Regions from separate parts of the Homo sapiens genome. Here all the other regions are linked to region 6. The links are contacts of gene promoters, found by promoter capture Hi-C in human tissues and cell types (Jung and others, 2019). All regions are on one chromosome and are shown on one strand. Each heading gives the region's core, a stretch centred on a gene start or on the middle of the fragment in contact. The rest is flanking DNA. Distances are from core to core; before and after follow the strand shown.

Evidence for each region. Contacts are between HindIII fragments. The study calls those that stand out against the background at their distance.
Region 1: a fragment that was not itself captured here is called in contact with the fragment with the promoter of FTCD in region 6 in 2 of the 25 tissues and cell types used here (lymphoblastoid cells and mesenchymal stem cells).
Region 2: a contact is called between a fragment that was not itself captured here and the fragment with the promoter of FTCD in region 6, in 2 of the 25 tissues and cell types used here (lymphoblastoid cells and spleen).
Region 3: a fragment that was not itself captured here is called in contact with the fragment with the promoter of FTCD in region 6 in 1 of the 25 tissues and cell types used here (lymphoblastoid cells).
Region 4: a contact is called between a fragment that was not itself captured here and the fragment with the promoter of FTCD in region 6, in 1 of the 25 tissues and cell types used here (lymphoblastoid cells).
Region 5: a contact is called between a fragment that was not itself captured here and the fragment with the promoter of FTCD in region 6, in 4 of the 25 tissues and cell types used here (dorsolateral prefrontal cortex, hippocampus, lymphoblastoid cells and 1 more).
Region 7: a contact is called between a fragment that was not itself captured here and the fragment with the promoter of FTCD in region 6, in 2 of the 25 tissues and cell types used here (dorsolateral prefrontal cortex and lymphoblastoid cells).

The regions. Positions count from the first base shown.
Region 1 is chr21:46,477,982-46,481,885 of GRCh38, reverse strand. All of the region lies in intron 1 of DIP2A (disco interacting protein 2 homolog A), which reads right to left. Among named protein-coding and RNA genes, the nearest start is that of DIP2A-IT1, 17 kb to the right of the region's middle. The HindIII fragment of the contact is 3,471 bases long and covers 763-3,904 here.
Region 2 is chr21:46,660,025-46,663,723 of GRCh38, reverse strand. It overlaps PRMT2 (protein arginine methyltransferase 2), which reads right to left. Exons shown (of 12, transcript NM_206962.4): 9 at 2,762-2,891; 10 at 1,788-1,924; 11 at 170-341. Among named protein-coding and RNA genes, the nearest start is that of PRMT2, 26 kb to the right of the region's middle. RefSeq lists an enhancer at 2,169-2,218 and a silencer at 2,319-2,428. The HindIII fragment of the contact is 3,202 bases long and covers 554-3,699 here.
Region 3 is chr21:46,517,496-46,521,447 of GRCh38, reverse strand. The region is part of intron 8 of DIP2A (disco interacting protein 2 homolog A); the gene reads right to left. Among named protein-coding and RNA genes, the nearest start is that of DIP2A-IT1, 57 kb to the right of the region's middle. The HindIII fragment of the contact is 7,528 bases long and covers 1-3,952 here.
Region 4 is chr21:46,500,276-46,503,807 of GRCh38, reverse strand. All of the region lies in intron 5 of DIP2A (disco interacting protein 2 homolog A), which reads right to left. Among named protein-coding and RNA genes, the nearest start is that of DIP2A-IT1, 40 kb to the right of the region's middle. RefSeq lists an enhancer at 3,237-3,376. The HindIII fragment of the contact is 5,234 bases long and covers 1-3,532 here.
Region 5 is chr21:46,615,995-46,619,579 of GRCh38, reverse strand. No RefSeq gene overlaps it. Among named protein-coding and RNA genes, the nearest start is that of S100B, 13 kb to the right of the region's middle. The HindIII fragment of the contact is 3,662 bases long and covers 1-3,081 here.
Region 6 is chr21:46,153,777-46,157,666 of GRCh38, reverse strand. FTCD (formimidoyltransferase cyclodeaminase) reads left to right here and starts at 2,088. Exons shown (of 14, transcript NM_206965.2): 1 at 2,088-2,197; 2 at 3,335-3,518. The coding sequence starts at 2,144. RefSeq lists enhancers at 2,315-3,018, 3,019-3,722, 3,723-3,890. The HindIII fragment of the contact is 26,017 bases long and covers 1-3,890 here.
Region 7 is chr21:46,638,339-46,641,057 of GRCh38, reverse strand. All of the region lies in intron 3 of PRMT2 (protein arginine methyltransferase 2), which reads right to left. Among named protein-coding and RNA genes, the nearest start is that of PRMT2, 4.0 kb to the right of the region's middle. The HindIII fragment of the contact is 4,299 bases long and covers 1-2,719 here.

The DNA of each region.
Region 1 (3,904 bases), core at 1,249-3,748, 320 kb before region 6:
AGAGATGGGGTTTCACCATGTTAGCCAGGCTGGTCTAGAACTCCTGACCTCAAGTGATCCACCCGTCTCAGCCTCCCAAAGTGCTGGGATTACAGGTGTGAGCCACTGCACCTGGCCCCACTGATTTTTTCCTATTGTTTTTTCTGCTTTCAGTTTCACTGATTTCCGCTGTTATCATTTTCCTTCTGTTAGGAAACACAAAACCATAATGAGATACCACTATATGCCTATTCAAACAGCTAAAGCTTTAAAAATACTGACAATGTCAAGTGCTGACAAAGACTGTGAAGCAATAGAAACTCATATATTGCTGATGGGCATGCAAAATGGTATAGCCACTCTGGAAAACAGTGTGGAAGTTCTTTATACAGTAAAGCAAACACTCACCAGACGACCCAGCAATTCCACTTGATTATCTACCCTAGAGAAGTAAAAACTTGTGTTCACATAAAAACCTGTACACAATTGTTTATAGCCACTTTATTCTTAATCACCAAAAAACTAGAAACAACCCAGATGTCAAGTGAATGAAGAGACTGTGACGTAACCATACTATGGAAAACTACTCAGCAATAAAGAGGAACAGACTATTGATACTTGCAAAAGTGTGAATAAATTTCAAAATACATTACGCTGAAAGAAGAAAGCCATTCTCGAAAGGTTACATGCTATATGATTCCATTTATATGACATTTCGGAAAAGATAAACCCATAAGGATAGGGAATAGATCAGCTGGGGGACCGGGAGACTGCAAAGGGATAATATGAGGAGTGTTTGGGGATGATGGTGCTGTTCTTTTTCTTGTTTGGTCTTTTATTATGTTTTAGAGTCAGGGTCTCGCTCTGCCACCTAGGCTGGAGTGCAGTGGCATAGCTTACTGCAGCCTCCAACTTCTGGGCTCAAGCAAATCAGCTTTCCGGAGTCTGAAAGGAGTGTCTGACAAAGAAGTACTTCAGGCAGTTAGCAGCTGGGTGACTCCACAATGGACCAAGTGTGGCTAAGGAAGAAGCACCCCAACAGGGCATGACACAATGGCTGGGAGCCCCAAGGGCCCGGCAGGTTCCAATCCAGTACAGTACAGTCTGCCTTTGGTCAGGTCACTTTTACCGCCTCCAAGGTGGGCACCAGCCAGAAATCAGATACACACCAGAGACCTTGGACCCAAGTGAGCTGGACACAGCTGCCAGTGTTTATTCCTTTGGAAAGGTATTGGCCTTTCCCTTGCTGCCAAAGAACGGGTCCAAAGAGTCCACTAGGTCCCAACTTGGGCCACACAAGCTTACCCAGGATCCCAAGGCAAGGTCTCTGTGCCATGGCAGCTGGGAAAGCCCACAGCTGCCACGACTAGACAGGTCCTACTGGAGGTGCCGACACAGAGCAGGAGGAAACAATAAAATGAGGGATGATCCACACCTGATATGGTCTGGCTCTGTGTCCTCCCCACTCAAATCTCACTTTGAATTGTAATAATCCCCACGTGTCATGGGAGGGACCCAGTGGGAGGTAACTGAATCACGGGGGCAGGTTTTTCCCCATGCTGTTCTCCGGATAGTAAGTCTCACAAGATCTGATGGTTTTATAAAAGGACAGTTCCCCTGCACACGCCCTCTTGCCTGCCACCACGTAGGACGTCCCTTTGCTTTCTTCATCTTCTGCCATGATTGTGAGGCCTCCCCAGCCATGTGGAACTGTGTGTCCATTAAACCTCTTTCCTTTATAAATTACCAAGTCTCGGTTACGTGTTTGTTAGCAGCATGAGAACAGACTAATACAATACCTGACCATAATAAAACTTGAAAACAGATGCCACACAAAAAAAAAAAAAAATACAGGCAGTCTCCAAGCTCGTGACACAGAACAAAAGGTGAGGAAAATCTGTGAAGAGTAATATTTTGCACGGTGGCACCATTCACTGGTAACAGTCGTTCTTAATATAAGCACGTAGAGATTTCACTTTCCAAGCCTTAAAGTTTCCAAACACAGGGGTCTTAAATATACAGATCTAATACACAAAAGTAGAGCCTATCTGACTGCAATTTAAATTATTTATGCAGCCAAGCATGGTGGCTCACATCTGTAATCCCAGCACTTTGGGAGGCCAAGGTGGGAGGACTGCTTGAGCCCAAGAGTTAGAAGCCACCTTGGGCAACATAAAGAGACCCTGTCTCTACAAAAAAAGAAAAAAAACCAATTAGCTGGCTGTGGTGGCACATGCCTATAGTCCTAAGCTACTAGGGAGGCTGAGGTGAGAAGATTGCTTGAGCCCAGGAGTTCGAGGCTGCGGTGAGCTATGATCGCACCACTGCACTCCAGCTTGAATAGCAGAATGAGACCTTAAAAAAAAATAAGCAAATTATTATGCTTAACGCTGAAGAGTATAGATATGCTTCCACAGCAGTGTTTGAATGTCCACTGTCTCATTCATTTGTAATTAAAAGCGGGCTTTTTAAATGTGTAGTAAATATTTTATCTCAGTTTTTAATAAAATATGAAAAATATGTTCATTAAACTGAATACATACACACACATAGGAACTCCATTTATGGCACTGACAAAATTATAGCACTCAGACCAACTCTTCCAATGGGAACAACTAAAAAGATCACATTAAAGTTTTTCTTTAAATCTGAAGACATTACAGAAGTGAAGAACTGAGGGCCAAGTGAAGTCAAAAAGTAATCACCAAGTAGCTGAACTGAGTGGAACTTGGACAGACTCAGAGAGGCAGGAGCTCATCACGGACGAGGTGCCCTGGAAAGCATCCCAGGTTGTTTGTTGGGACTCAGAAGGACCACACCTTGGGTATGAACTAAAAATAGAGCAGCACTCATAAGGACTGGAGCCAGTTTCAAATCACTTTCTCTCTATATAGATTAAAGTGATCTTGGACTGCATCTATTCCCAACCTATCTACCTACCAGATGCAAAAGTAAGCCCTTTGTGGTCACAAATGATCACTATATAGACAATGTCTGGCATTTGATCAGAAGTAATTAGGCACATATGGCAGCAAGAAACTATGACTAAAATCCATGAGAAACAATAATAGAAAGCTATAGAAAATGGAACTTTAGAATAACCATAATCAATATGTTTAGGGAATTAAAAAGCAGGATTGTGAATTTAAAAAAAAAAACATAAATTCTAGGACTGAAAAATACTGTATCTCAAATCCAGGAATAAATTTAATGAAAGGTGTGCAAGACCACTACCCAGAAACTAACAACATTATAAAAACATTACTGAGATAAATTAAAGACCTAAAGAAATGAAAGGATATACCACATTCATGAATCTGAAGACTCAATACTGTGAAGTGTAATTTCTCTCCAAGTGGATCACAAGAGTCAGCCTGAGTAATTCTTGAAAGTTTTGCCAGGCGTGGTGGCTCACGCCTGTAATCCCAGCACTTTGGGAGGCCGAGGCAGGCAGATCACCTGAGGTCCGGAGTTCGAGACCAGCCTGACCAACATGGAGAAACCCTATCTCTACTAAAAATACAAAATTAGCCAAGCATGGTGGCACATGCCTGTAATCCCAGCTACTCGGGAGGCTGAGGCAGGAGAATGGCTTGAACCCAGGAGGCGGAGGTTGCTGTGAGCCGGGATCGCGCCATTGCACTCCAGCCTGGGCAACAAGAGCGAAACTCCCTCTCAAAAAAAAAAAAAATTCTTGAAAGTTTCTTGCATAGAAATTGACAAGCTGATTCCAAAGTATATAGGGAAATACAAAGGGCCAAGATTAGCTAAATCAAGCTTGAAAAACAAAATAAAATTAAAAGGGCAGACTTTACCAGATATGAAGACAGAATGGAGCAGGTGCTAAGATAAGCAAGTAGAACAACACAGCAGAAATCAGTCCGAAGCAGCAGGGGAAGGATAGCCTCTTCCAAATGTTCTGAGT
Region 2 (3,699 bases), core at 905-3,404, 510 kb before region 6:
GAAATGAAGCCAATGACAACAGGCGCTTTCTGTGTAAGGATTAAATCACTCCTGCACAAAAGGCGTGGACCCCAGTGTGGGCCAGCATCTGCCATCACTACCACCACCCAGGCCTGTCTCCCTGAGGACCGGCACCCACAGGACAGAATCTTACAACTACGTATCTTACTTTTTGAGATGTGGGGTCTTGTCTGGAAGTGACAGCCCAGCTCAGAGCCACAGACATGTGCCTTCTCCACACTGGGTTTCTCTGCAACACAACTGAACCCGTGACCACGTCTCCTGTATGGACAGGGACTGGGTCGTCCATCATGAACAGCGTCTGCTTCCAGTGTGTGGTGCTGCAAGACAGGGGTGCGTGTGACCTGGAGGCTGAGCTAGGGCAGTCTCCACATGGCCCTCGGGGCGCTGACTCAGGCTCGCACTGGCTCTCGCCCCCAACAGCACCCACACAGCCGGCAGTCCACCCTGAGGGCCTGGGGACACAAAGCTTGGCTTTTCAGGCTAACTCAGGGAACATATACACCCCCAGCCCTGTGATCTAAAGGGACTCTATGGGATACACTGGGATCAAAGTTACGCTAGTGAGACAGATCCTGCCAATGCCAAACACAAGCTTGCTCCTGAGACCACTCAGATTCCAGGAGGTGTGGACGGCTCACCCTGGGTGGCCCAGAGGATGCGGGAGCTCAGGGGACACACAGCTGCACTAAAGGTCCCGTGTGGTGTCGACTCCCCGGCCCGCCAGGAGGACGGCTGTGCAACCCCTTCCTGCACCCTTGCCTAAGCTGCAGAGGCTGGTGATCTAGCTCCTGCTGTTAAACTGTGGTGTACACAGACAGAATCAGGTCCAAGGAGTCGCTTCTGTGAAGGTTACAAGGTGAGGACAACTGTCACATTTGGGGGGAAATAGTAAAACGCTATGATTCTGCACTGGGTTGCGTTGGAAACATCTCTAAGTTCCTCAGGCTCTGTCTTCCCTCAAACTCCCACTGTCCACGGTGGGGCCAGCAGTGAAGTGGGGGGCTCCTCAGGTCTCCAGTTTTTCCCTGACTCTGGTCACACCCCTCACCCCAGCCTGTGCCCCAGGTCACTGCCCCCTCCACGCCCCCAGACTCGGGGATGGGTATAACTGGCCTCCAAGCTGCCCACCTCCACCCGGTGATGGCACTGGAGGGGCCACCACAGGACTCTTGTGATGGGGACCACATGCCAGGCCAGGCCATCAACCCCGCACCTCTGCGACCTCCCTGGAGCCGGGGTCCCCTCGCGGGGCCACCACGCTGGGAAGTCAGCGGGGCAGGTGCCAGAGCGGGGTAGCCAACCCCACCCAAAGGGAAGGCCTGCAGGGCCCTGAAGGCAGCTCCACTGCCACACATGCCCAGGGTGCTGGCGGGGAAATGTGTCCCAAAAAACAGGCACCTCCAAAAACGTCAGGTGAACCCCGACGCCCCGTGGAGGCGCTTTGGGTCAGACCATGAAGAGCTGTGGTGCTCCTCGCGGGGTGGAAGACAGGGAGCTCCTCCCGTTGGGGCTGTTGTCGGAGGGACGCCCAGGCTGGGCCCAGAGTGGTGGCGAGACCCGGAAGGGGGCACACAGGCTGCGGTGTCTACACCACCCGTGCCCCCATGCGCGCCGCCCCCACCCCACTGCCCGCGCCCCCACGTGCCCCACCCCCCCACGACCGCCACGCCGCGTCCCACCCCCTCCTGCGCGCCCCATCCCCGCACCCCGCCTACTCCCCTGCCCCCCACCCCGCACCCCGTGCCCGCGCCCCGCACACTCACGGGTGGAAGGGCCCGGTGCTGAGCACCTGCGGCGGCTGCCCCTCCTGCAGGCTCTGGAAGTGGACGCTAAACCAGGCCGTGAAGCCGTGCAGGGTCCCCGCCTTCCTGATGTCGAAGCGCAGCTCGCCCCTCAGGGTCTGGGTCAAGCAGATGACAAGGCACGCGTGGGCACCGCGTGGCACCGCAGGGCCCGGGTTGGGGCGGCCCCCTCCACGCGCCCCGCGCAGACGCTGAATGCGTCAGGAACCGTAGAAAAGCCCCCCAGCCTGGGGAAACCACCCCCAAAACCCGCATCGTGAGTTCAGAGGCTTCAGTCAGAAACGTTTCAAGCATCTGAGCTTCTTGCGCCCAATTTTCTACCCCAGATTCTGCGGAATCTTTTCGGCGCTCAGCTCTTCCAGTTAAGGAGTTGGAGAGCTCCAGGCTGGGCCTTTCCACAGCAGAACGAACTAAAAACCAAAGCGCGCCGGCGCCACCGCGCCCGCCCCATCTCCAGACGCGGCGCCAGCTGGGGCGCCAGGCAGGGCGGGGGCGCGGGGAAACCGCCCAGAGCCCACGAGCGCCACCGCGCGGCCACAGACAGGGATTCACGGAGGGAATTCTAACGATTCTGTCATGAAGAGTGGCTTAAAATACTTGAAAAAAACTGTAATGCAAATACCATAATGAAACGAAATATAATTTATTTGATTTTGAAGATGCTGAGAATATTAAACATAAATCTAAAATGAAGACGCTGGAGACATAAAATGGTGTACAATATGAAAGAATCAAAATAGAACGTAAAAAAGAAAAAAGACTGGAAAAAATCAGTAGCAAACGTTTTATAAATTCACTTATTTGCATAATAAAATAATTAGTTATTCACTCACACCCCCAGCACTCACTGAAGGTTTTTGATAAGCCAGGCTCTGGTCTGAGTGTTTCGTGGTCACTGATTATCGAATGTAAGGAGCAATTCATCTTTTTCTCACCTCTAGATCAGAAATTTGCACGGTTCTCATGTCCAACTGCAATATAGTGCACGGTTCAGAGAGACAGTCTTCTGGTTTCAAAATGTGGTTATACTTGGGCTTTGAAAAAAACTCCTTAACTGCTAAAGATCTAGGGGAAAAGGTCAAAGCGACTGTTGAGAGTCATTGCAAACATCTTAGGCTTCAAAACACACACGTGGGACCGCGGTGAGTGCTCTCCCTTCTGTGTCACCAGGATGCTAAGCCACTATCTGGGGCCCTGGAACCCCAGAGCAGCCCTCAGGCCTCCACAGGCCCTGGGTGCCTCCCGCTCTGAGAAGACCCAGACTCTACCCAGGCATCCAGAGACTTCCTGAGCCTGACCTGGAGGCATTAAGGAGCCTGCCAGTCACTGGGCGCTTCCCTGTGAGGTCTCATTCATGGGATCTGAGCACACGGAAACCAACGCTCACCCCTCATAACCCAGAGGACAAGGGGAGTTGCAGCGTGTCTTGCCTAGTTTTAGAATGTATTTGATTTCAAAATCTTTTGTGGATCTTCTATTAACAGTAAATGAACGCGGTATTCCTGCTGTAGGTTACTCTATAATAAACGAAAGGAACTAGAAGGGCTGAGGTGGCCTGAGTGAGTCTGAGTTTCAGGAGAAATACTTGCTCTGTTGCTACACAAATTCAACACAGAAACAGACACTAGACGCCGCATGGCCCCTGCATGTCACCGTTTGCCAACCCCCATCACTGGCTGCACTAGGCTTGTAAGTCACCGATTATTTACCACAGAAATGTTGTAAAAAATAAGCAAAGCAGTAACTTCTGAAATAGCAAATAAAAGTGAATGTTTTAATAAAGATTCCACTATATTTACACATTTATTTTTCTGATAAAAAATTACAAATTTAAAAATTGGAAACTATGGACAAGTATAAAGAAAAGCTTAAA
Region 3 (3,952 bases), core at 946-3,445, 360 kb before region 6:
GGAGGCCAGGGCAGGCAGATCACTTGAGGTCAGGAGTTTGAGATAAGCCTGGCCAACATGGTGAAAACCGGTCTCTACTAAAAATACAAAAATTAGCCAGGCATGGTGGTGCACACCTGTAGTCCCAGCTACTCAGGAGGCTGGGGCAGAAGAATTGCTTGAACCCAGGAGGCGGAGGTTGCAGTGAGCCGAGATCACGCCACTGCACTTCAACCTGGGTGACAGAGTGAGACTCCGTCTCAGGAAAAAAAAAGAAAAGAAAACAAAGATTTTTGTTTGCCTTTTGAATAAACTATAGGAAAAAGAAGGGAAAGAAAGGAGACAGATTATTTGGAAAGCTAAGTCTTCCTTCTATTAATGAGTAAAGGATTTTGCCTTTTAAAAATTTTTGAGTTATCATTTTGGGTAAATGAATGACTTATGGTGACCTGGGATTCTATTTTGTAATATCAAGCGTTTAAACCTTTAATATTTGACAAACTTTCCAACATCATACTCTAAATTCTGCCTTTTCCTGACCTAATTAATCTTTTAGATATTAGGTCCTCTCAAGTCCAAAAAATGACATATTCAGCTTATTTGGTATAAAAATCACACAGCAAGCACTGTCAGATATGAAATGATGCGTGGCTTTCTTTGGGCTATATTTGTATAAATATGTTATTGGTTTGTGTTCCAAAATCGTGTGAAACTTCTATAACTCTGATATGACAGTACATGTTATTAATATAATTGGTATGTTAAATTGTTCCATGTCACAGAAGTAATCAAAATTCCTAGTCAATTGTGGCTTTTGTAGAGGCTGCCCTAAGGCATTCTGTCATCCATACAAAATTGTTGTCTTGTTTGGGTCCTCTTTAGAAGGTGGTTTTATAATCAACTAGAGAACTCTAACAGGTGTTTTTGAATGCAGGTTTCTGATAACTTTGGAGGTTGCGACATTAGAATAGAGGAAAAACTTTCAGGACTCTCATGGAGAGCCAAAATGTTCATGAATATCGAACAGGAGTTAACTGCATGAGCTGAACTAATAGGACTAACAGAACTAATAGAAGACAGAAGTAACTTGTTTTGACATGAGCTGAACTAATAGGACTAATAGAACCAGTAGAAAACAGAAGTAACTTGTTTTGACTTTTTGCTTAAATTGTTGCTGATTCTTTGTTTTGTTTTTCAGAGCCAAGAAAACTTCTCTTTTGAGCTATTTACAGCTTTTAACAATTGAGTAAAGTAGAGAGAAACAAGAGAGATGGGTAATGTAAAAATCTGGATCAGGCTGGGTGCGGTGGCTCATGCCTGTAATCCCAGCACTTGAGGAGGCCGAGATGGGTGTATCACAAGGTCAGGAGATCGAGACCGTCCTGGCTAACATGGTGAAACCCCGTCTCTACTAAAAATACAAAACATTAGCCGGGCGTGGTGGCGGGTGCCTGTAGTCCCAGCTACTTGGGAGGCTGAGGCAGGAGAATGGCGTGAACCCTGGAGGCGGAGCTTGCAGTGAGCCGAGATCGCACCACTGCACTCCAGCCTGAGCAGCAGAGCAAGACTCCATCTCAAAAAAAAAAAAAAAAAAAAAAAAAAAAAAAAAAAAATCTAGATCAATATTCTAATTCTGGGCACACTGGAATCAGCTAGCAATCCCATATCATCTTAGTTCCAACAGTTACCCAGTTCATGAAAATCCCTATTTAATTTACTTGGGATAATTTTACTTATTTTGTTTTACTGTTGTGGAATATATTGCTGTTGTACTCTGTGTAGGAATGCAGGATAAGCTTACTCAATGTTTTCTTAAACTGAACACTTATTAATCTTCCAGATACCAAATTTTCTTGGCGTTATGAATGGCCCTCACCATACTGATGCTTTCTGACTTAGCTCCTTTCTTTCTCAAATATAAAAGACCCTAATAGTTAGGCAGGAATGTCATCACTCCTGTTCAGCCTGAAGAAGTTATAGAAGATGAATCTTTGTCCCTCTACAACCTTTAGAATTAAGGCTTCTCTCATAAAACAGAGAGGGGAAATATGTCAGAGGCGTTTAAACCAGAGCAACTCCATCTTGAATAGGGGCTAGGTAAAATAAGGCTGAGATCTGCTGGGCTGCACCCCCAGAAGTTAGGCATTCTAAGTCACAGGATGAGATAGGAGGTCGGCACAAGATACAGGTCATAAAGACCTTACTGATAAAACAGCATGTGTGGTGAAGAAGCTGGCCAAGTCCCCGCAAATGAAGATGGCAATGTAAGTGACCTCTGGTTGAACTCACTGCTCATTATATACTACTTACAATGATTGGCATGCTAAAAGACACTCCCACCAGTGCCATGACAGTTTACAGCAGCCATGGCAACGTCAGGAAGTTATCCTAGATGGTCTAAAATGGGAGGAACCCTCAGTTCCAGAAACTGCCCACCCCTTTCCCAGAAAATTTATGAATAATCCACCCCTTGTTTAGCATATAGTCAAGAAATAACTCTAAGTATTCTTAGTCCAGCAGCCCAAGCTGCTGGTCTGCCTATGGAGTAGCCATTCTTTTATTCCTTTGCTTTCTTAATAAACTTGTTTTCATTTTATTTACATATACTTCTTGAGACAGGGTCTCGCTCTGTCACTTAGGCTGCAGTGCAGCGGTGCAATCTTGGCTCACTGTAACCTCCACCTCCTGGGTTCAAGCAATTCTCATGCCTCAGCCTCCCGAGTAGCTGGGACTATAGGCGCATGCCACCACACCCGGCTGATTTTTGTATTTTTAGTAGAGACAGGCTTTTGCCATGTTGGCCAGGCTGGTCTCAAACTCCTAGCCTCAAGTGATTCACCCATCTCAGCCTCCCAAAGTGCTGGGAGTATAGATGTAAGCCACCGTGCCCAGCCGTTCACTACAGAAAAAATGTGTAAAAGATTCAAGGGGTACTTAACAAAAGAGCAAGTTAAAATGACAGGAAAGATCTCAATCTATTTAGTTATCAGTAAAATGCACATTAAAACCACAATGAAATACCACCATATTCTCACGAGAGTAGCTAAAATTCATAAGCCTGACAATACCAAGTGCTGATAATGATGGGGAGCAGGTAGGGCCCACCCACACTGATGGGCCAAGGGTGAACTGGAGAACGGTGATGCCATCTCAGCAATGTGAAGGTGCCCATAACCCTAGACCTAGTACTTCCACTCCTAAGTACTCAACCTTCAGAAACATATGCTTAGCTACCACGTGGCACACACCAGAATCTTCCTGGGAGCACTGTTTCTAGTAGCTAAAACTGGATACAGCCCATGTATTCCAGCAACAGCATAATGCTTAAGTAAATTCTGATATATTCATTCCTCAACAGAAATAAATGAATTACAACTACCCGCAATAACATGGATGAATTTTAAAAGCACAATGGTGGAAGACTCTGCTTCCGAGTAGGAGAGGGTACTGGTGGCAGACCAGCACTCCTGCCTAAGATGAGTTTAAAAACTGAATAAAATGCAGAAATGATCTTTTGGAGGCAGCAAGTTGCTGCTCAGCAAAGACAACTAGAGGAGTTAAGATTCCAGAGAGGGAAAACCCTCCGGAAAGTGAGCTGAGCTGCAGCTGTCTTTACGCTGTCCATGTTCAGGGATTCCAGCCCCCACGGGGGGCTGAGTATCCACCTGGAGCAGTCCCACCAGGACATGAAGAAACCTGCAGAGCTTTTGGTAGAGGCTAGGAGTCTCGAGAGCACAGCCACCTCCTGCAGGACATGTGCTGAATCCTCTGGCTGTGTGCAGCAGGAGACCAAGAGCCCATGTGGAAAACCTCTGAAAAGCAGAATGGGGTTGTTAAGAAGCCACGAGGAGACCAACGCCACGGCTGGGAAGCCATCAGAGGAAAGAGACACATGGACACACCAGGCACTGGCAGAAAGCCCAGGAGAGCCAGAGGAGAGCAAAGGCCGGCTGGGCCAGGCATGACTGGACTG
Region 4 (3,532 bases), core at 885-3,384, 350 kb before region 6:
GTTGCAGTGAGCTGAGATTGCACCACTGCACTCTAACTTGGGCAACAGAGCGACACTCTCTCTCAAAAAGAAAAAAGAAAGAAAGAAGGAAGGAAGGAAGGAAAGAGAAAGAAGAAAGAAAGAAAAGAAAGAAAGAAAGAAAAAGAAAGAAAGAAAAAGAAAGAAAGAAAGGAAAGAAAGAAAGAAAGAAAGAAAGGAAGGAAGGAAGGAAGGAAGGAAGGAAGGAAGGAAGGAAGAAATTCCCTCAAGGAAGCAGAAACAAATTTGAAATCAATTGTCACTGGTACATTTTTTTGTTACATTATGAAAAAAACAGCCAGGATCATACAAACTACTACAACCCCCAAAAAAGTATGTTGGACACCAAACCTTTGCAGTCCTAAAAGAATAAAACTACAGAAATTAAAACTTCCCCCACTGCCAGTTAAAACAGCTGCAAAACTAAGAGACCACAATCAAGTTCCTTTTTTTTTTTTTTTTTTGAGATGGAGTCTCACTTTATCACTGCCCAGACTGGAGTGCAGTGGCACAATCTTGGCTCACTGCAACCTCTGCCTCCTGAGTTCAAGCAATTCTCCTGTCTCAGTCCCCCAAGTAGCTGGGATTACAGGCATGTGCCACCACACCCAGCCAATTTTTGTATTTTTAGTAGAGACGGGTTTTCACCATATTGGCCAAGCTGGTCTTGAACTCCTGGACTCAAGTGATCCAACCACCTCGGCCTCCTGAAGTGCTGGGATTACAGGTGTGATCCACCGCGCCTGGCCACAATCAAGTTCTTAAAGTAGAATTGGTGTAACATTTAAAAACAGACATTAGATCTGGAACATATGTAAAAGTCACTCCTTCCATTGTCTGAATGTACATTTTTGTGTTTTATTTCCATGGTACAGTCCATCTATCTGTTCAGAATGCTGGCTGACTGTAAGTTCCTATAGGAATTATGGTTATAATTGGGTCTACCACTAGGAAAGGCACTGTGTCTATATGACTATAGAAATTGTGTTCTACCACAACAATGAATACACAGATGCTCGCCCATTTATAAGAATCAACATAGGGGCCAACATGGTAGCTCACACCTGTAATCCCAGCAATTTGGAAGGTCAAGGCGGGCAGATCAGCTGAGGTCAGGAGTTCGAGAATGGCCTGGCCAACACGGTGAAACCCTGTCTCTACTAAAAATACAAAAATTATCCAGGCGTGGTGGTGCATGCCTGTAATCCCAGCTACTCGGGAGGCTGAGGCAGGAGAATCGCTTGAACCCGGGAGGTGGAGGTTGCAGTGAGCCAAGATTGCACCACTGCACTCCAGCCTGGGGGACAGAGTGAGACCCTGTCACAAAAAAAAAAAAAAAAAAAAAAAAAAAATCAACACTAGCTGTGCAGTGGCTCACACTTATAATCCCAGCACTTTGGGAGGCTGAGGCAGGAGGATCACTTGAGCCCAGGAATTTGAGATCAGCCTGGGCAACATAGTGAGCTCCCATCTCTTAAAAAAAAAAATTAGCTGGGCATGGTGGTGGACACCTGTGGTCCCAGCTACTTAGGAGGCTGAGGTGAAAGGACCACTGGAGCCCAGAAGTTCCAGGTTACAGTGAGCTAGGACCATACCGCTGCACTCTAGCCCGGGCCACAGAGTGAGATCTTATCTCCAAAAAAATAAATAAATAAACACTAGTCTATGTTAGGTAGAGACAACTGGTAATGTTTAATATTTTAATGAAGGTACCTGTTAGTATCACTGTGGTACTCCTAGGTACAATGTAAAGCAGTAACTTTTTACTAGGTTTGTAGAAAGCTGAAGTATATGAAAGCACAAACTCACTGTCTGCATAGCAGAATATACCTTTTGAAAAAATCTAAACCGTTAAGATTTTTCACAACCCTTGAAAAAGCCTGATGCTGATCAAATTAGCATTTTAAAGTATGTCTATCAGGAGGTTCTTTTAGTTTAAAAAGAAATTTCCCCACTCTTCCAAATCTAGCAAAAAGAATAAATGATTTTAAAAGTATATATGGAAAAAAAGGTATACATGGTATACATACATGTACTACAAGTAGTTTTTTAAAACAGCTATATAATGGCTGGGAGCAGTGGCTCATTCCTATAATCCTAACATTTTGAAAGGCCAAGGCATGAGGATCACTTGAGCCCAGGAGTTCAAGCCCAGTCTGGGCAACACAGTAAAAACTCCATCTTTCCAAAAAATTTTTAAAAATTAGCTAGGCATGCTGGCATTTGCCTATAGTCCCAGCTGCTCAGGAGGCTAAGGTGGGAGAATTTCTTAAGCCCAGGAGTTCAAGGCTGCAGTGACCTATGATCATGCCACTGTACTCCAGCGTGGGTGACAGAGCAAGACCCTGTCTCTAGGTGGAAAAATAAAAAAAAAAGCTGCATAAAAATAAACATAAACTACATTCAAAATAAAAATAAGCTACTATAATTAAAAGAAGCTACTATAATTAAAAGTACTGCTTTTAAAAATAGGTATTTACATTTGTATAAAAAAGGCTTAATGTATTTGATTTCCTTAATCCAAAACTGAAAGTGATATATTTTTAAAAATTATCTTTACCTGATATGTTCTACCTCGAATTTTTTACTTAATATATTCTTCCTCTTTTCATGTTTCTTTCCTTAGTTTAAATTGAAGACACATCTAGTGTTAGAAACTAAAACAAAGGATGATTTCTGTCATAAGAGGGAAGTTGAGTATTTTTGAGATTTAGAAATTCAAATTAACTATGTCCAACATTTAGGATGTGGGTAGCTACAATCTGTAGAAAATTGCAATCCTGTAAGCAAAGTATTAAATCAAGTCCAAGTTAAGAATTTTTTTTAAATGTATTAGAATTGATCACAAAATGTTGATGCTAGGACTAACAAGAAAGGAAGAGATGATTACAGCTGCATCTGCAGGAGTCAGGAGCTGTCTTCCACCAACATAGGTAATAAACCTACATTATAAATAATTGCAGCCAAGTCCTTTTCAGAGAATGAAAACATCTAATTCAAACACACATTAGAGTTCAATGCTTTGCTTAAAGACACCCCACAATCACTGGAAAGTTGAGGGCTGTACGGTTAAACATTCTGAACTGTGGCTAATTTTTCATGCTGAATAAGCTTTTATTTCTAACCCACCCGGAAACAGTGTTGAGATGACTCAGCAATGGCTAATAAACTCAAACTACAAATGTTTTGTTTGCTCTCCTGCACCATCTCACCTAGAAAGGAGCTTCTGGGAGAAGAAATGAGGTAACAGAACATTTAAAACTACTGTTTTCCTGCCCCTGCCTCAGAATTGGAGTTAACTATGTATTTCTACAAAGTTAAATCACCAACGATGAACAGAGAAGGCAAACAACAGTGCAAAAGCTGTTTTCAAGATATGGACTGTACACCACCTTGAGGAAAGGTGGGCAGCAGCCTCTGGCCATGGAACACCCAGGAAAGCTACAGAAACAATCTGAGCAGGCTGTTTTCCTAAGAGAAACTTTCTCTGTGGAAAATGCTGCCTGCTGCTACC
Region 5 (3,585 bases), core at 1-2,500, 460 kb before region 6:
GAAAGAGAGAAAGGAACAGAAGCAATATGTGAAGCAATAATGACTGAGAATTTCCCCAAGATTAATGTGAGACACCAAATCACAGCTCCAGGAAGCTCAGAGAACACAAATAGGATAAATGCCCTTCCCCCAAAACTAGGCATATCACATTCAAGCTTCACAAAATCATAGTTAAAGGAAAAATCTCAAAAGAAACCAGAGAAAATAAACACGTTACCATAGAGAAGCAAGATAAAAATTACATCTAACTTCTCCTGAAAAACTATGCAAGCGAGAAGAAGATGGAATGAAATAGAGTCATATATCACTTAATGATGGGGATACATACTGAGAAATGTTTCATTAGGCAATTTTGTCCTTACGCAAACATCATACAGTGCAGTTACACAAACCTAGCTGGTACAGCCTGCTATATACCTAGGCTGTATGATACAGCCTGTTGCTTCTAGGTTACAAACTTGTCCAATATGTTACTACTGGATACCGTAGGCAATGAAACACAATAGTAAGTATTTTTATGTCTAAACATAGAAACAGTACAGTAAAAATATGATATAAAAGATTTTTAATGATATACCCATATAAGGCATTTACGATGAACAGAGTTTGCAGAACTGGAAGTTGTTCTGGGTGAGTTAGTGCTTGAGTGGTGAGTGAGTGTGAATGCCCAGGACATTACTGTACTCTACTGCAGACTTATAAGCATTTCTGTACTCTACTGTAGGCTTGCAAGCATTACTGTACTCTACTGCAGACTTATAAGCACCACTGTACTCTACTGTAGGCTTATAAGCACTGTACACTTAAGCTGTGCTAAATTTATTTATTTATTTATTTTAGAGACAAGGTCTCGCTGCATTGCCCAGGCTGTTCTTGAACTCCAGGCTGTTCTGAACTCAAGCAATCTTCCTGCCTCGGCCTCCCAAGGTGCTAGGATTAGAAGCTTAAGCCTCTGCAGCCAGTCATACATTAAATTTATTTTAAAATATTTAAAATATCCTTGCCGGGCATGGTGGTTTAAGTCTGTAATCTCAGCACTTTGGGAGGCCGAGGTGGGTGGATCACTTGAGGTCAGGAGTTCGAGACCAGACTGGCCAACATGGTCAAACCCCGTCTCTACTAAAAATACAAAAATTAGCCAGGTTTGGTTGCGCATGCTTGTAATCCCAGCTGCTTGGGAGGCTGAGGCAGGAGAATCGCTTGAATTTGGGAGGTGGAGGTTGTAGTGAGCCAAGATTGCACCACTGCACTCCAGCCTGGGCAACTGAGCAAGACTCTGTCACAAAAACAAAAACAAAACAAAATTATTCTTTCTTCAATAATAAATTAAACTTAGCTTACCATAACTTATTTACTTTATAAACTTTTTTTCTCATTGACTCATTTGTAATAACACTTAGCTTAAAATACAAACACATCGTATAGCTATACAAAAATATTTTCTTTCTTTATATCTTTAATCTATAAGCTTGTTTCCATTTTTAACAATTTTTAAATTTTTTACTTTTTAAACTCTTTTTTTAACTGAAACACAAACACATTAGCCTAAGCCTACACAGGTCAGAACCATCAATATCACTGTCTTCCACCTCTACATCACATCTTTTCCCCCTGGAAGGTCTTCAAGGACAATGAGACATATGGAGCTGTCATTCTCTATGATAACGGCACCTTGTTCTAGAATATGTCCCAAAGGACCTGCTCGAGGCTATTTTACTGGTAACTAACTGTTAACTAACTTTACATAGATAGATAGATAGATGATAGATAGATAGATAGATAGATAGATAGATAGATAGATAGATAGAAAGAGTACCATCTAAAATAATAAAATGTATTGTATAGTAAATACATAAACCAGTAAGATGGTCATTTATGATCATTGTCAAGTATTACGTATCGTACATAATTTGATGTACTATACTTTTATGTGACTGGTAGCACAGTAGGTTTGTTTATACCACTATAACCACAGACACATGAGTAATGCATTGCACTACAATGTTTTGATGGCTACAACATCACTAGGCAATAGAAATTTTTCAGTTCCATTATAATCTATGAGGCTACCATCGCATATGCAATCTGCCATTGACCAAAATGTTGTTACATGACACATGGTTATATTTAAAGTGTTGTAAAAATAAACCCTCTGATATGGTTTGGCTGTGTTCCCACCCATATCTCATCTTGTATTGTAATCCCCATGTGTCATGGGAAGGACCTGGTGGGAAGTAATTAAATCATAGGGGGCAGTTACCTCCACGCTGCTGTTCTCAAGATAGTGAGTGAGTTCTCATGAGATCTGAAGGTTTTATAAGGGGCTTTTTCCTCTTTTGTTCGGCACTTCTCCTTGCTGCCTCCATGTGAAGAAGGATGTGTTTGCTTCCCCTTCTGCCATGGTTGTAAGTTTCCTGAGGCCTCCCCAGCCATGCTAAACTGTGAGTCAATTAAACCTCTTTCCTTTATAAATTACCCAGTCTCAGGTATGTCTTTATTAGCAGTGTAAGAACAGACTAATACACCCACCAACCTAGAATTCTGCGGTCTGCAAAACTGTCCTTCAAAAGTAAAGGAGAAATAGACTTTCTAAGACAAACAAACATTGTTGCTAATAAATCTGAAGAAATGTTAAAAGAAGTTCTCCAGAGAAAGGAAAAATGATATTTTAGAAACTCAGGTCTAAGCTAACATCATGATGACAGGATCAAATCCACACATATTAATACTAACCTTGAATGTAAATGGGCTAAATCCCCACTTAAAGGACTCAGAGTGGCAAGCTCAATAAAGAACCAAGACCCAATAGTATGCTGTCATCAAGAAACCCATCTCACATGCAGTGACACCCACTGGCTCAAAATAAAGGGATGGGTAAAAATCTACCAAGCAAATGGAAAACTGAAAAAAGTAGGAGTTGCAATCCTAATTTCAGGCAAAAAAGATTTTAAACCAACAAAACTCAAAAAAGACAAAGAAGGGCATACAAAATGCTAAAGGGTTCAGTTCAACAGGAAGACCTAACTATCCTAAATATATATATATATATATATATATACACACACACACACACACATATCTATACCAAGCACAGGAGCACCCAGATTCATAAAGCAAGTTCTTAGAGCACTTCAAAGAGACTTAACACTCCCACACAATAATAGTGGGAGACTTCAACACCCTGCTGACAGTACTAGACAGATCATTGAGGCAGAAAATTACCAAAGATATTCAGGACCTAAACTCAGCACTGGAGTAAATGGACCTGATAGACATCTACAGAACTCTCCACCCTAAAGCAACAGAATAGACATTCTTGTCATCACCACATGCACATACTCTAAAATCAACCACATAATAAGACATAAAACACTCCTCAGCAAGTGCAAAAGAACTAAAATCATAACAACCACTCTCTTGGACCACAGCACAAGAAAATTGCTCAAGGCCAGGTGGGGTGGCTTACGCCTATAATCTCAACACTTTGGGAAGCTGAGGCGGATGGATCACTTTAGGTCAAAAGTTTAAGACCAGCCTGTCCAACATGGTGAAACCCTGTCTCTACTAAAAATACAAAAATGAGCC
Region 6 (3,890 bases), core at 839-3,338:
CTCCAGACACAGATCCCTGACCCCATCCCCCACTCCCAGCCTCCAGACGTGGAGCCCTGGCTGGGGAACTCTGTGTGCTCCCAGCCTCTGAAGGTTTCTGGGCTTACCTGGCTCCTGTCTCATCCCAGTCCCCCTGAGTAGCCACGGAGGTGGGGTCCCTAAGGCCCACATGGTTGGGGTTCCATTAAGAACTTCAAGTGGGTGGCTCACGCCTGTAATCCCAGCACTTTGGGAGACCGAGGTGGGTGGATCATGAGGTCAAGAGATCGAGACCATCCTGGCCAACATGGTGAAACCCCATCTCTACTAAAAATACAAAAAATTAGCTGGGTGTGGTAGCGGGTGCCTGTAGTCCCAGCTACTCTGGAGGCTGAGGCAGGAGAATGGCGTGAACCCGGGAGGCAGAGCTTGCAGTGAGCCAAGATCGCACCACTGCACTCCAGCCTGGGCGACAGAGCGAGACCCTGTCTCAAAAAAAAAAAAAAAAAAAAAAAAGAACTTCAAGTGGGGCTGGGCTCAGTGGCTCACACTTGTAATTCCAGCACTTTGGGAGGCCGAGGCAGGAGGATCGCTTGAGCCCAGGAGTTTGAGACCAGCCTGGGCAACGTGGTGAGACCTCATGTGTATTTGTCTGATAAAGACATACGCAAGACTGGGTAATTTTTAAAGAAAAAGCAGTTTAATGGACTCAACAGTTCCACAATCATGGTGGAAGGTGAAAGAGGAGCAAAGTCACGTCTTACAAGAGGGTGTGTGCAGGGGAACTGCCCTTTATAAAACCATCGGATCTCGTGAGACCATTCACTATCACAAAAACAGCACCGGAAAAAGCCGCCCCCGTGATTCAGTGACCTCCCACCGGGTCCCTCCCATGACGTGGGAACTATGGGCTCTACAATTCAAGATGAGATTTAGGTGGGGACACAGCCAAACCATATCACCATGTCTACCAAAAATGGAAAAGTTAGCCAGTGTAGTGGTGTGTGCCTGTGGCCCAGATGCTCAGGAGGCTAAGGTGAAAGGACCTCTTGAGCCTGGGGACCAAGGCTGCAGGAAGCCATGATTGTGCCGCTGCACTCCAGCCTGGCTGACAGAGTGAGACTTTGTCTCAAAAAAAAAAAAAAGAGAAAATGATAAAAGCACTGCAAGTGGGCAGCGGCTGAACGTGGAGACAGGAGTTCTCCCTTCTGAGCACGGCCCTGGTGCCGCTGACTTCGTGGGGAGCCTGTAGTCAGGGGAGCAGCAGCTGGGGAGAGCTGGGGTCTCAGCTGCCTTCCCCCATATCGCACATGCCCGTCTCGTGTGTATCTGCACTCTCACACGCGTGTTCCCCTGCCCTGCGCTCACATGTATCTGCACTCACTCTCACATGCTTGCTTCCCCTGCCCCATGCTCACGTGTACCTGCACTCTCACACGTGTGCTCCCCTACCCCACACTCACATGTATCCTCGCTCACTCTCACACGTGTTCCCCTGTCCTGTGCTCACATGTATCCACGCTCTCACACATGTGCTCCCCTGCCTTGTGCTCACGTGTATCTGCACTCTCACGTGTTCCCCTGCCCTGCCCTCACGTGTATCCTCACTCACTCTCACACGCGTGCTCCCCTGCACTCTCCTGTCTGAGCTGAGCTGACCTCAGTTGGGTGCTGCGAGCCAGGGCCTCATGCTGGCCTCTCGCCCTCCACAGCCCCAGGGGTCCAGGCTCCTCCAGGAACAAACGCAGGCCCCACGGGCTGCCTGGAAGGCCTCCCAGAAGGCAGCACAGGGTCACGAGGGTCACCCGCAGTGGCACAGGGAGGCCTCGTCACGACAGGATTCCAGCCAGGCTGGCCTGATGCTCCTGGGGGTCCTCGGCACATGCCCCTTCACCCTGGCATGTGCTTCTTTTCCGGGAACCCACACTCTGGCTGAGTGGAGCCATCCCCTCTGGGTCAACAGCACCCGGGGTGGCTCTGCAGCACCCCACTCCGCGGCTGCACAGGGACCTTGGCCCCACTGCTCCTTGTGCCTTGCTGGTTAATGAGAAGCCGGTGGGGAGGTGCTGCCGGTGAGCGTATAAAGGCCCTGGCGGCGGCTGCGGAGCACTGGCCCTGTCCTTCCATCTGCCCAGAGAGGAGCATCTGGATCAAGGTGCTGGCCATGTCCCAGCTGGTGGAATGCGTCCCCAACTTTTCGGAGGGGAAGAACCAGGAGGTGAGGCCCGAGGAGCTGGTCAAGCATCTAGGGCTGATGGGGCAGCTTGAGTGGCTAAGGCCCAGGCCATGGAGGAGGTGGTGGGCTTGGTGTCCCGGGTCGTCTTCCCAGGATGGGCAGAGCCGCTGCCCGTGGGCCCCAAGGACATCCCGTGGCTCAGGGCCCTGGGGAGTGCCTGACCCAGGGGTGGGTGGAACACGACTGGTGCTTGTGGGGGCTGAGGCTTGGCTGTGGCTTCAGGGGCCTTTCGGGTGCTTTCGGTGGGGGGTTGGGCAGATCTCTGGGCCTCAAAGGGCCTTGGTGCTCCCCCCTGAAAATGGGGCTCCTGCCACTGACTGAAAGGGCTGTGTGAGGCCACACGAGGTGGCCCAGCATGGTCCCCACTGCCGCCTCTCCATCTCCACTGGAGTTAGCTTGCTGAGCCCCCACCCTGCAGCCACCATCCTCACTGGACCCAAAACGAAGTAGGCACAGAGGGGGCAGCAGGCCCCCAGGTCCGGCCTCTCGCCTTCCACAGCCCTGAGGTCCAGGCTCCTCCGGGAACAAACGCAGGCCCTAAGGGCCACCTGGAAGGCCTCCCAGAGCGCAGCACCAGGCCACAGGGGTCACCCGCAGGGGTGCAGGGAGGCCTCGTCATGCCGGGATTCCAGCCAGCACCAAGGCCCTGGGACAGGGCAAGATTTGGGGCTGAGCCCCTGCTCCCAGCAGTCCTGCCACCCGGAAGGTTCTAGGCCCTTCAGGCCCCTCCCCCATGCTGGTGATCTGTCCCTCCCCTGCTCGGGGGTGGGGGTCCCGGCCCCTCTGTGACCTGCGCCTGTGGTCACCTTCTTGGATCCCCGGCCACGTCTCTGGCATCTGTCTGTCGGAGCAGAGCCCGTGAGTCTCTCCTGGAGGCACCACCTGCAGCCCCTTGTGGGGACTGTGCTTGGGCTGGAGTGACTGTGGCTGCTGTGAGGGTTCCCGGGCGGCCGCTGTGTGCGGGCACTTTCGGTGGGAGCTCAGCTTGTCGGAGAGCCCCCAAAGGCTTGGCCCGCCTCCTCAGCCCCCATTTGTGTCTCGGGGTGCAGCCACCTCCAAGCTCCTTTTCCTTCTTTCAAACGGGGAGACTGAGGTGTGGGGGCCGGGCCTGTGTCCCAGGTGATCGACGCCATCTCTGGAGCCATCACACAGACCCCGGGCTGCGTGCTGCTGGATGTGGACGCAGGCCCTTCCACCAACCGCACCGTGTACACCTTCGTGGGGCCGCCGGAGTGCGTGGTGGAGGGGGCCCTCAACGCTGCCCGGGTAGCTTCCCGACTTATCGACATGAGCAGGCACCAAGGTGAGGTCTCTGGGCTCTCCTGTGGCTGCCGTGTCTCAGAATGTCAGGGCCGAGCCCTGTCCTGGTGTCCTGGGAGAGGGGGTAGGCCCGGGGCCCAGGCTTGGAACGTGGGGTCCAGTGGGGCTGGCTCTGGCTCTCCTAGGAGGACCCTGGAGTGTGGGGGTCATGGCCCCCATCCTGCCTGCAGGGCTGTGCTCTGGGGGACCCCCAGGTCGCCACGCTCCCACAGCACCGGGCCACCTTCACGGCTGGGTGGGGGGAGGGGGCCACGCCGGGGAAGGTTTGTGGGCCCCGTCCACCTGCCCACTCGTCAAGGGGGCTGAGAGCCAGTCTTGGAGCAGGCACTGGTGGGGGAAGGGCTGCCTGGAAGCT
Region 7 (2,719 bases), core at 1-2,500, 480 kb before region 6:
CCACCTCCCAAGCTAAAGCAATCCTCCTACCTCAGCCTCTCAAGTAGCTGGGACTACTCTTGGTACAATATAGATACTATTTCACATCTCAAGAAATTGTTTTACAAACATATTGTTTTCCCAGTTATCTTGTTTATGATCAGCGCCTCAAGAGTCAGGTCAACAGAAATTTTCCAAACTGAAGCACAAAATGAAAAAAAAAATAAGAATAGAGCATGAGACATGTCAAACAGCAGCAAAAATTCTAACTTATGTTTACATGGAGACCCCAAAAAAGAAGACAGAAGATGAGGCAGAAAAAAATAAATGAAGAGATAATGGTGGAGATTTTTCCAAAATTAAAAAAAAAAAACCATCAAGGCCAAGGTGGGCAGATCACCTGAGATCAGAAGTTTGAGACCAGCCTGGCCAAGATGGTGAAACCCCGTCTCTACTAAAAATACAAAAAATTAGCCGGGCGTGGTGGTGGTCACCTGTAGTCCCAGCTACTCGGGAGGCTGAGGCAGGAGAATGGTGTGAACCCAGGAGGCGGAGCTTGCAGTGAGCCGAGATCGCATCACTGCACTCCAGCCTGGGCGACAGAGCGAGACTCCGTCTCAAAAAAAAAAAAAAAAAAAAATGTAGGCAAAACACATTTCATAGTTTGACACAGCAGACTCACACTAGTAAATATAAACATAAAGTTGTCAGGTTGAAGGGAAATGATCCTACATGAAAACACAGAATGCAAGAAAAAGGGAAAGACCTCAAAAAAGGCAAATAATATGTGGGGAAACATAAAAAAGACTATTTATTTTACTTCATAAAAAAAGACTCGATAGCGTAAAGCAATAATGATAATTTATTGTGGCGTTTACAACATATGTAAAATTAAAATGTTACATCAACAGTACAAAAATATGGACGCTGGTAAATGAAACTAACTTCTAAGATCTTTACCTTATGAAGTAGTTAAAAAAAAGACTGAAATTGAATTAGGATGCATACTGCAATTTCTTGGGAAAACACTAAAACAATATAAAAAGATACAGCTAACAAGCTATTAAAGGAGGTAATATGGAATTATAGAAAATCCTTTATTTATCCACAAGAGGGCAGGAATGGAGACATGCAGGAAAAAGAAATGTGACAAACATAAAACAAACAGCAAAATGTTACACTTCATCACATTCGTCATAACATGAAGTGTTAATAGACTAAATACTCCAATTAAGAGGCAGAAATTGTGTTTAACAGAGAAACAAAAAAACAGACCTAAGAGCTAGACCCAACTAGCTCTTTACGAGAAAAACGCTTTAAATATAAGGACTTAAGTTGAGGGAAAAAAAATACACACACACACACACACAAACACACACACACACACACTTTATGTAAGCACTAATGATAAAAAAAAAAAGCTGGTACAGCTATATTAGCATTAAAAAAAAGGTACACGCAAGAAAAGAAGTATTTATTAACAGGTAAAAAGACAGATGTTTTATAAAAAATAAGGTCAATTAATCTAGAAAACAAAACCTATACTAAATATATACACCCAATAACAGGGACTCAAAATATACAAAGCAAAAAGTGATAGAACCAAAAGGAAAAATAGATATATCTACAATCATAGTGGAGAATTTTTAGTAACTGATAGAAGATGGCAAAAAAAATCAGAAAAGATATAGAGATTTCAACAATACTAATAACACATTTGATCTTCATGACATTTATAGAATGCTACACTCAACAACTGCAGAATACATAGTCTTTGCAAGTACTCATGGAACACTCACCAACATATTCCATATGATTAGAACATAAAGCAAGCCTGAATAAATTTCAAAAGACTGAAATTATAGAGGATGTTATGTTCTCTAACCAATGTAATCAAAGCAAAATTAAATAAGAAAAAGTAAAATTTCCAATATGTTTAGAAATTGGTCAACATACTTTCAAATAGCCCAGAAAACTTCTAATTTCCATTGAATATATTAGAAAATATTTTGAAGAATGAAAATGCATTTAAATATGTGAGGTACAGCTACAGCAGTGATTAGAGGAAAGTCATAGCTTTAAAGACTATTAAAGAAAGGTTTAAAATCAATTATCTAAGCTTCCCTCTCAGATGTTATAAAAATTAACCCAAATACAACAGAATGAAATAAAGACAAAAGCAGAAATCAATGAAATAGAAAAACAGAGAAATCAACACAGATAAAATTGGTTCTTTATAAAAATAAAATTGATAAAACCCTAAGAAAAGATTGATCAAGTGTGAAAAAAAGAGATAAAACACAAATTACCATTATAAGACATCTCTTCTATAATGGAGGGTGGTATTAACAGGATGAACACAAGTATTACTGAAATACTACCATGACCAGTCAGCAAAATTGAAATAACAAAATACCATTTCTAACCCATGAGACTGACCAAAACTTAAAAGTCTGATACTGTCAAGTGTTAGTAAGCACTATTGTGGGCTACTGACAGACCTGTGAACTCGTAAAGTCATTGTGGGGAACAACTGATCATTATCCAGTAAAACTGAAACTTGCAATCCCTTGCACCCTGCAATGCCATTACTGGAGCACAGAGGCATGGAGACGGATGGTCACTACAGCATTGTTTGAAATAGAAAAAACTAGAAACAATTTAAGTGTCCAACAAAAAGGGAATAAGTAAAATGGGGTATATGCCTACTGTGTAGCAGTGAGACTGCAACAGGCCCATA